Regions from separate parts of the Homo sapiens genome. Here region 2 is linked to region 1. Evidence: promoter capture Hi-C in human tissues and cell types (Jung and others, 2019). All regions are on one chromosome and are shown on one strand. Each heading gives the region's core, a stretch centred on a gene start or on the middle of the fragment in contact. The rest is flanking DNA. Distances are from core to core; before and after follow the strand shown.

Region 1 (4,706 bases), core at 997-3,496:
ATTTATATTTGTTCTTCAATATTCTGTTTGGAAATGGCAATATTCTTTTCCATTCATGTTTCATACTAAGATGCCAAGACTGGGGAGAAGTGCATCCCTCCTACAGGGAGAGCAGCAAAAATCTGCAAAACACACACACCAATGTAATTTATTACATGATCATTTTCAATCTCTTTCAAATCTCAATGATTTCATTAATTTGATCTTCTCCACTCCACCTTCAGATGCTCTTTTTTCTTCAACTTTTGCCGTTTGTACTAATAATATTGCACATCTTACAATGCGCTAGGAGGGGTCAAAACATTTATTTTTTAAATGACAGATAGTAAACATTTTAGGATTCATATTGTAAGTCTCTGTGGCTACTACTTGACTCTGCCATTGTAATGCGAAAGCGGTCATGGACAATACATAAAGAAATCGGCACCACTGGGTTTCAATAAGTCTTTATTTACAAAAGCAGGTGGCTGGTCTTCTGTTGTAATTTGTAGACCCCTTAGCTAGAGCAATGACTGTCCAACCTGAATGTGCATTGGAAGCATCTGGAGGGATATTAAAACATAGATCGCAGTGTCCCATTCTCTTAAAGTTTCTGATTTGATAGGCTTGGGGAAGGGCTTGAGAACTTGTCTTTTCAACAAGTTCCAGGTGATGTTTTTGCTATTGGTCTGGGGACCACACATTGAGAACTCTCGACCTGTAGTACAAAGACAATGTTCTGTAGTCAATGACCTATTATTTGTGATCAAAAAAGGAATTTAAATAAATGAAAAATATACTATACAATTGAGGGAAAAGCAATGTTTATGATTCATTTTTTCATCAGCATATTCTTTTCTTCACAAAATCCAAGTGACCAAACTTAGCCAGAGACTGCCCTGAATGAAATATTTATTGGCTACATAAATGAGTTACAATAAAGTTAGCATTCACCTTGTTATAGTGACACAGCATACAGTGTGTAAATATTACATTTTTCCGTGCCTCCCTTCACGTGATAGACAGGTCACGAAATTGTTTTGTTTGTAAAGTCTCCCCAAGCCATTTCAATTTGTCACGATACACAAAGCTTGGCTACACCACCTACATCAACACATTTGTATTCAGTGAAACAAAAAGATTTCAGACAGTCCCAATAATTTTATTCTTTTTCAACACTAGCATTGAAAAGACATTGTTATTTGTGTACAGTCCTCCTGTAGGGAGACATATTTTTAAAACTGTATTGAGACTCTGTACTCTTGAGATTTTTTATAGAACAAAATTAAATGATTATCTGAAATATTGTGGCATTCTTGATGTCTGAATAATAAAATGACTTAGAGTCTTAGAAAATACACGATTCTTGGTGAATATATTTAAGCAAATGTTTATTCAATAGTTAGCACTTTAATAGTGAAACACAAAGAAAGATAATCATGGTTAAAGAATGCAAAGTTGTTTTGTGGCTTTTGGAGGAATAGGTTTTCAACAATAACACTTTTCATTGTAATATTTTATTGCCATTATAATATTCTATAAAGTTTTAGGTAATTATTAATAAATTCTCTCATATAAAGAGAAATTAACATTAATTTTTAAAATCTTACAATATTTAAACATGACAAAATTAAAACAGACCAGACTAATGTATATAGTCTTAGCAATCTTGAGTTCTTCATAGACTCTGAACCAAGTTAAATCAGCCTAGAAACAAGTAAGTGAATTAGGAGAAATTGCTTGAGCATGGTTATTGTCACCAATAAGCATCTGATTCTCGTTTAGACAATTAAACATTGAGACAGCTTCCAGGTAAACGTAATTAATTGTCTTGATTCACAAAAAAGACTCAAGCGACTTAGTGGAGGAAAGACTAATAGAACCCAAGATTTTTTCCTCCCAGGTGACAGTTCTCTGATATGCAATAGATCTCAAGCATTTAAAAAGCAAAGCTTCGGGTGCTAACCCAGGTGCTATCACTTTCTCAGCGCCTAATCTTCACCCGCTGCTAGGCTCGTTTAATGAGTCTTCTGAGAGCTAAGGAGTCCTCGGATTCATTCAAAGCATTCTACAATGAACGCTAGGGGGGAAAAAGAACAAACAAAATACATTTCAAATATAGGATTCAATTACTTTTCACTACTCAATGATGTGTCAAAGGCACGCTGTGTTTTGTTTTGAGGGCGGGGAGATGACAGGAGGGAATCCTGGGCCCCCATTGGCTCGCCGCTCGCCGCTGCAGTTGAGCTCCAGCCGCTCCGAGAGCATTATTGATCTGAAGGGTAAATGTGGAGGGAGCCACAGAGAGGGGTCCAGGCTTTTCTGAGAAGAGAGGCAGCCTCTTCCAGGAAGAAAGTGGTGTCTACTGGCTGCCCGGCCTGGAGAACCTTCTTTGAATGAAAACGGACAAAATGCAAAGCAGTGTGTTGGCACAGTGATTTGGAAAGGGGAAACAGAAGAGAAGGGTCTCACCTTCCGCGCAAGGCTGAGCTGTTGGCACCCTGCTGCGGCCGTCGGTGCTGCTGCTCCTGCAGCTGCCTTTTCTGCCATCAGGTAAGGCTTCCGTTTTTGATTGGGATTGCACCGCGTGTGTGTGATCGCTTCAGGGTGCATGCACAGAAATTCATACATGATTAATAAAGTGATGCCTAGCGTAGTGAGAAGCTGAACGAAGCTGCACACAGATCTGGCAGCTGAATTAGGAGCTTGTGCGTGGTTTTGCTTTGGGAAACTTCGGTAAGTTCTAAACAAGTCTCTGGTCCTCAGACCGTGAGAGGTTACGTGAAAAGAGGAAGGAAAGAAATGTTTTAACCTCAAATGCATCTTAGCATGGCTAAATTTTCAAATGAAAATAAGTAGGTGTGCTAGATGTCCAACTAGTTATTTTATAAATGGCTTTATAGATATCTGATTTTTACAACAAAATAATGAATGCTTTATTTTCAAAGAGCTTCCAGAGATGCCGACCCCCCTCACTCATTTCTCCACTGACGCTGAAATTTATGAACTTCATTCTTCATTTGAAAAATACCACTGTAAAACCATTTAAATGTTTTAATGGCCTGCCTCTCATGGTACAGCCATTTGAGTTTCCTACCACAAAACTAATCTGGGACAAATGAAAGAGATAGATTACCAGATCTGCTGTGGGTTATATAATATGCATTTCCAAATTATTTTAAGGTTATTGATCATTTGGTGATACATTTAACAAGGAGGAAATATGTGTGATATAGGACATAATGGCAAATCATTTTTCAAAAAAGACCTTCAGCATTTTATAAGTATTTTCTTATGTTTTTAACATCATTATTTGTTTTTTGCTACATCGGGACCACAGTGTATTTAGAACCTCTGTACTTCAGAGTACCTGATATCTCTTATACACATTTCTCTGTACTCTCTGGAGAGGGAACTGACATACTTCTGGCTGATTCTGCGACCATTTCATGATTCTCAATTTCTCATCGAGTATTTTGAAGCTCATTCACAAACTGCTCAGCTAGAAAATTACCTTACATACTGAGGGGGAAAAATTCAAATAGAGTAGATTCTGAAAATGTGTTTACAGTTTTAAATTACACTATACATGACCAAAACAGGAAAAATGCAACCATGCCAAGCAGGTATTAGTTTGCTTGATCTTCACTGTATACCTGAGCAGTTGTAAGGTTATAAAATAATATCCAGACACACAGCTGTCAAGAAATACTGAACCTCATCATTCAGTGGCAGCGCCTCATCATTAAATTATCCTAGACAATTTAAAATATCATCTTATATATTTTTATTATTATGTCAACAGGAGAATTCAACCGAGTAAGTTTTTATTATAAATAATTCCATGATTCTAGCAGAATGTCTCTTCAGAATTGAAAGGCAGATGGTTACTTTGCCCAAACCATGAACAGGTGATTGACGAATTGTTTTGGAGTGGTTGAGTGGATAGCCACATGCAAAACAGGGGCTTCCCTTTAACTAATTTAACTGATACATCGAGTTATTCAGCAACAATATTTAGAAACTGTCTCTCCACCTTCTATGAAAACTACTGAAGTAAAAAGAGGTTTTCAATTAAGTTGAAAATCGAATTCTAGAACATAACATATTTTTCTCTTAATAACTCTTACTTCAGAGACCAGTTTCCAAGATTAGCCCTGGCATTGTTAATCCCCTTCCCCATTAAAAAAATGTTTTTGATTTTCTGTGTTGTTCAGTTAATCTCTGCTTGCTGTGTTCTTAACTTCTACTGTGGTGTGCCATTTCCAAGCAGTAGGGGGAAGTTTTTAAGCCACGAATGCTTTTTTATTTTCTACTCAAACTCACTCCTCTCACTGATCTGCTTAGTGATGTGATCATTTTAGATAATTCCTACAAAAAAGAGAAAGCTGCATTATTGTTGGGGGGAGGGGGAGGGAGTGTGAGTCATTTCTTCCACACACGGAATGATATGTATTAAGTTCTTACTACAGTACAAACAGTGTTTAGTTTATGGGGAAGAAAATTTCTCTTAATGCCTCATGTGACGTACTTACACCTCATATAACTCTGTCCTTTGAGGATGGAGCATAAAACTGATCTCCTTAAATTGAGCATCTTTTGAACCTGATATTTTGGCAGAGCCTATTTCATGTAACAGTCTGGGATATAGGTTGAAATCAATCCTTTATCATTATGAGATTAATAAGGATATATGTCACTCTTGCCTCTTAAAATGCATTGTGATG
Region 2 (4,706 bases), core at 830-3,329, 200 kb after region 1:
AAGAACAAGGCTCCTTTTTAAATATATCACATGTAATTTTAACTCTGGAAACCCCTAGTGTTGATTACCATTGTGCTCTGTGGTCATATGTTAGTATTGTCTCTTAAGTGCTGTGCAGGAGATCATTTACATAATGAATTAATTAATCTGTTCCCCCTAAGTCCTCACTACACTGTTACACTGTTACCCTCTTGACCCAAAATGTCTGTTATAGCCTGTCTTCATAATCTTGACCATACTTCACATTTTAATCTTTTTCCATTTCATGGTTACTATATGTATGAATTCTATCCTAGAAGTATTCAGTAATTATTCTGAACCTACGTTTTAACCATCTATCACATTTGGACTGTATCTCACTTCCACTGTTGTAGGTCTACTTGGTATTTATTTTTACAATTCTAATGCTTCAGTGTCCGAGGGGGGTTTTCCTGTGATTCCCTAGAACTTGGAACTTAGAACTTGAAAAGATTTGCTCCTTTATAATCTTTTTTTAAAAAACAGATATATTAAGATATAATTCACAGACCATAAAATTCAACCATTGAAAAGCGTACAATTCATTGGCTTTTTATTCAGATTTGGGCATCTTTGTGCATCCATCATGACAATCAATTTTAGAACATTTTATTACTCTGAAAAAAAAAAAACCACCATCCTATCAACTACTCCTTAGCTGATATGGTTAGGCTTTGTGTCTCCACCCAAATCTTATCTTGAATTGTAATCCTCATAATCCCCATGTGTCAAGGGAGAGAGACCAGGTGGTGGTAATTTGATCATGGAAGTGGTTTCCCCCATGCTGGTCTCATGATAGTGAGTAAATTCTCATGACATCTGATGGTTTTATAGGTGTTTGGTAGTTCTCCTGCATTCATTATCCTTTCTATCACCTTGTGAAGAAGTTTCCTTACTTCTGCTTCACCTTCTGACATCACTGTAAGTTTCCTGAGGCCTCCCCAGCCATGCTGAACTGTGAGTCTATTAAGCCTCCCCCTTCCTTTTTAAATTGCCCAATCTTGGGGAGTTCTTTAGAGCAGTGTGAAAATGGACTAATATATCAGCCATCTGATATTTTAAATAGAAGAAAAATAGAGCAGAGAATGGATATAGAAGTGTGGGTTTGGGGAGGGAAGAGGTAGTTTGCATTTATAAAGTAGCTAGAGAAGTCTGAGAAGGTAACATTTAAGTTAAGGTCAAACAGGCAAGCTGGCTGTGACTTTAAAATATATTTTGGATATGGGGCCTCTTGATGATATAAATGGACTAATTCCCTCTACCTATACTTTGAGTAAGTTATCTTATAATTGGAAATCTCTGCTCAAGAAAGACTTTTCTGATATTAAACATGGAAATACACTAACTACTAATATTAATAGGAATAGTAACAATAAAAACCTACAACATGGATATTAACAGTTATCGCCTCTCGTTTGTTTCCAAGAAAGACTCCCACCACACAGTGTAAAGATTCCCCATCAAATAGGCTAATGTCAAAATGCTAGTTCTGCTTGTAAACCCACTTGCAGTGGCAGATAAGAGCCTGCCATTTCCCTTCTTAGTAGTTTCTGATATTGATGTTGTACACGTGTCCCTGTGATGGGTAGCATGCAGAGAGTGATGCTTCATTACCCAATATCATTTTGCACTTGTTATCTCTTTCTCATGGATGAAGTGCACAAGATGAAAGGGGTTAACAGGCTCAAACCACCGTGGTAGACACAGTGCAGTGCATAATGAGCAGAGAATTCTTTTCCTTCTAACTTCTAAATGCCTACAGCAATTATGTTCTCTTTCTAATTATTCTCTTGCAAGTGTGTACATATGATTTTGTGTTGAAAGAACATTGCTAAGGGAGTAAAGAATTAATAGACACTTGCCCTTACAAAGGGAACTGTGGTTACTCTCTAAGGACACAGTTTAAATCTCTAATATTTCCAAGTACTGCTTTATTGTTTGTTTATACAATGCAATCACTAACTAAGTGGTCAAAGACTAGATATGGTTTCCATAACTAAACAAAAAATAAAACTAAGAAGAGCAAGCCTATATCTATCACCAAGCTTAGGAAATGAAACAAACCCTCCCTCTGAAGTTTCCTGTGTGCATCTTCCCAAAGATTTTGCCTCTCTGTCCACTCTCTATGATAGCCACTAATCATGAATGTTTTACTAATCATTTTCTAGCACTTATTTACAATTTTGTTATATAGGCATATGTATCCTCAAGCAATAATTTGTTTCCTTTTTCTGGTTTTAGCCTTTACATAATTACAGCCAGACTAAGTGTATTATTTTATGATTTAATTTTGCACCCATTTAATTTAGACATTTATGTTATATAGACACCCATGCACATGTGCACAAAAATATACATATAACTATTCGGTAAAATAAATGAATGTGTAAGCATATAATTTGTATTTGTTAATCTCTATAATTTTATATATATATGTAACTTTACACATCAAGCAGTGCTGCCATAGATGGTGTTGTGAATGTTGTGCATGTTTTTTGTATAGAATTGAGGTTCTCTAATAATGGATATCTGGATTTTATCATATGATTCCCCTTTAGATTTACTAGCTCATGCAAAAAAGCTTTTCTGAAGCGATTATAGAAAACTCATACTATTAGCAATGCAAAGTGTATGCCAGTCTTTATACCTTGGCATTGCCATCTCATTTTCAAATAAGGATAGGCATTTTTGTTTGTTTAAGAAAGCTCGTATCACATTATGCCACCAAATGTCAAATTACCTAATGCGGTATAGCATTTCTTATCTTTGAAATCCTATGTTTTCCAAATGCTAAATTGACAGTCACTTAAATAAAACTCAACTCTGTTCTTTCTGCTGTCCTCTTCTCTTCTTGCCTAGTGTTCCCCTTGCATTAGTATGTGAAAAATATGAGTCTCTTGCTCTCCCACTCTCCTGTGTGTGGTACCACAATGCATAGAAAGAAATATGGCCTTGGAAAGGAAAGCATTCATCTGAGTCAGAGTTCTGCCTAGCCTTGGGCAAGTCACCTAAGTTTTCATTAGCTCACACAGTTCACAAAAGGAAAAGTAAGGGTAAATAACAAAGCCTATTCATAATAATCGCTGTTGCAAACAATGGAAATATTGTATTCACAAGCCTGGCAGAGTGCCTGGTACATTTCAGGCAGTTAATAAAAGGCAGATAATATTTTTATTACAGAGACTTCACATCCAAGACCTTAGTCCTCATTTCACCCTCCTACCTTTTTTGACAGTATCATTTCTCTACATCTGTTTTCATTAACCAGCTTGATTTTATCCCTCTACACATACTTTGTAATTCAGTACATTTTTCACTTTGGATATTTTAAAATGTCATATATTCATAATTAGCATTTCTTTGAACTACAGTTTTGCAGACTAAATTCCAATATTATCACATTTGTCCATCTTATCCTGTTCACAGTAGATATTTTGTTAAGCTTAAAGTAATTGGCAAGAAAAATAATTCTCTGCTTAAACTGAGAAAAAATATCATGAATATGTTGTCATTTATGTCACTTTGAGAAAGTGGTGAAAAAAAGTTGTTAAGATTTACCCTTTGTGATTGCATAAATAATAAGCAATCTATTAAATGGTACATAAAATCAGGTCCTAAAGAAACAACTCCAAATTATAAACTGCCTGTGAATATAATGAACATATGTTTGATCCAAATCATATATCTGTACCTGTGTCTATAAGAAATATATTTAACTTTTAAGTTTTATTTAAACCTGCGTGTATGTGAAAAACAGGTAGGAAGGGTCATGGAAGGGATATCGGTAGAGAACTTAGATATCTCCTAGAAAATACTGCAACCATATTTTCCTAAGCCCAATACAGTGAGCTCAAGAGAATTTCAAAACAGACATTGGGGTTGAGTGAAGTTGCTCAGTCAGATCTGTCCAGTTTCTTCAATACCTATTTAGGTATAAGAAAGCAGTTGGCAAAGAATTATATAAGAACTTATCTACTCAATCTGTAAATTATAGTAGTAGATACTGTTCTGTGGTCTTGAGGATGTCAAGGCTGTACTCTATGAAATAGTAGAAGAGAGTGGGATGATTAAAAAGTGGCTGAAGCAATCACTGTATGAAGACTTGCATAGAAAATATTCAAATTAGATGTGTTGGAATTGCCAACGCTTGTGGAGGGAGTGCTTTTGGAGGATCAAAAAAAACTTGCATCAGCCTTTGTCAAAATTTATCTTCTGTATATATGTAAGGTTGGCAGGTAAAATAAGCTTATTAAGAACCACTCTAAATCATAACAAAGTGAATTACTGGCAATTCACAAATATTTAGTTAAGAATTCACAGTTAGTAACAACCGTTCCAAAAGCTGATTAATAAGATATTGCAATGTACTTAAAGTATATTTTTCAAAAACATATATATTACTGTTAGCTCACTTTCAACTTGGAAGAAAGGAAACATTTATAAGACAATATTGATACTTTCCATGGAAATGTGAGTTCAGGGATTGCATAAAAGTGAATTTTAATGGAATATTAGTTTTGACATAGTTCAAAAATAAATATTGTAATCAGAGTAAAAACTAATATCTGCAATAGAAAAATTAGTAGGAACTTGCTATTGTGTCCCCTAAAATTCATATGTTGAAGTCCTAAGCTCTAGTGTGACTATATTTGAAATATGGCCTTTAAGAGGTTATTAAAGTTAAATGA

The links. The method cuts DNA at HindIII sites, captures the fragments that hold promoters and counts their contacts. A contact is called where the count stands out against the background at its distance.
Region 2: a contact is called between a fragment that was not itself captured here and the fragment with the promoter of CDH12 in region 1, in 2 of the 25 tissues and cell types used here (dorsolateral prefrontal cortex and heart left ventricle).

The regions. Positions count from the first base shown.
Region 1 is chr5:22,850,884-22,855,589 of GRCh38, reverse strand. It overlaps CDH12 (cadherin 12), which reads left to right and starts at 2,246. Exons shown (of 15, transcript NM_004061.5): 1 at 2,246-2,532. The HindIII fragment of the contact is 14,494 bases long and covers 1,501-4,706 here.
Region 2 is chr5:22,647,646-22,652,351 of GRCh38, reverse strand. The region is part of intron 1 of CDH12 (cadherin 12); the gene reads left to right. Among named protein-coding and RNA genes, the nearest start is that of CDH12, 200 kb to the left of the region's middle. The HindIII fragment of the contact is 3,566 bases long and covers 297-3,862 here.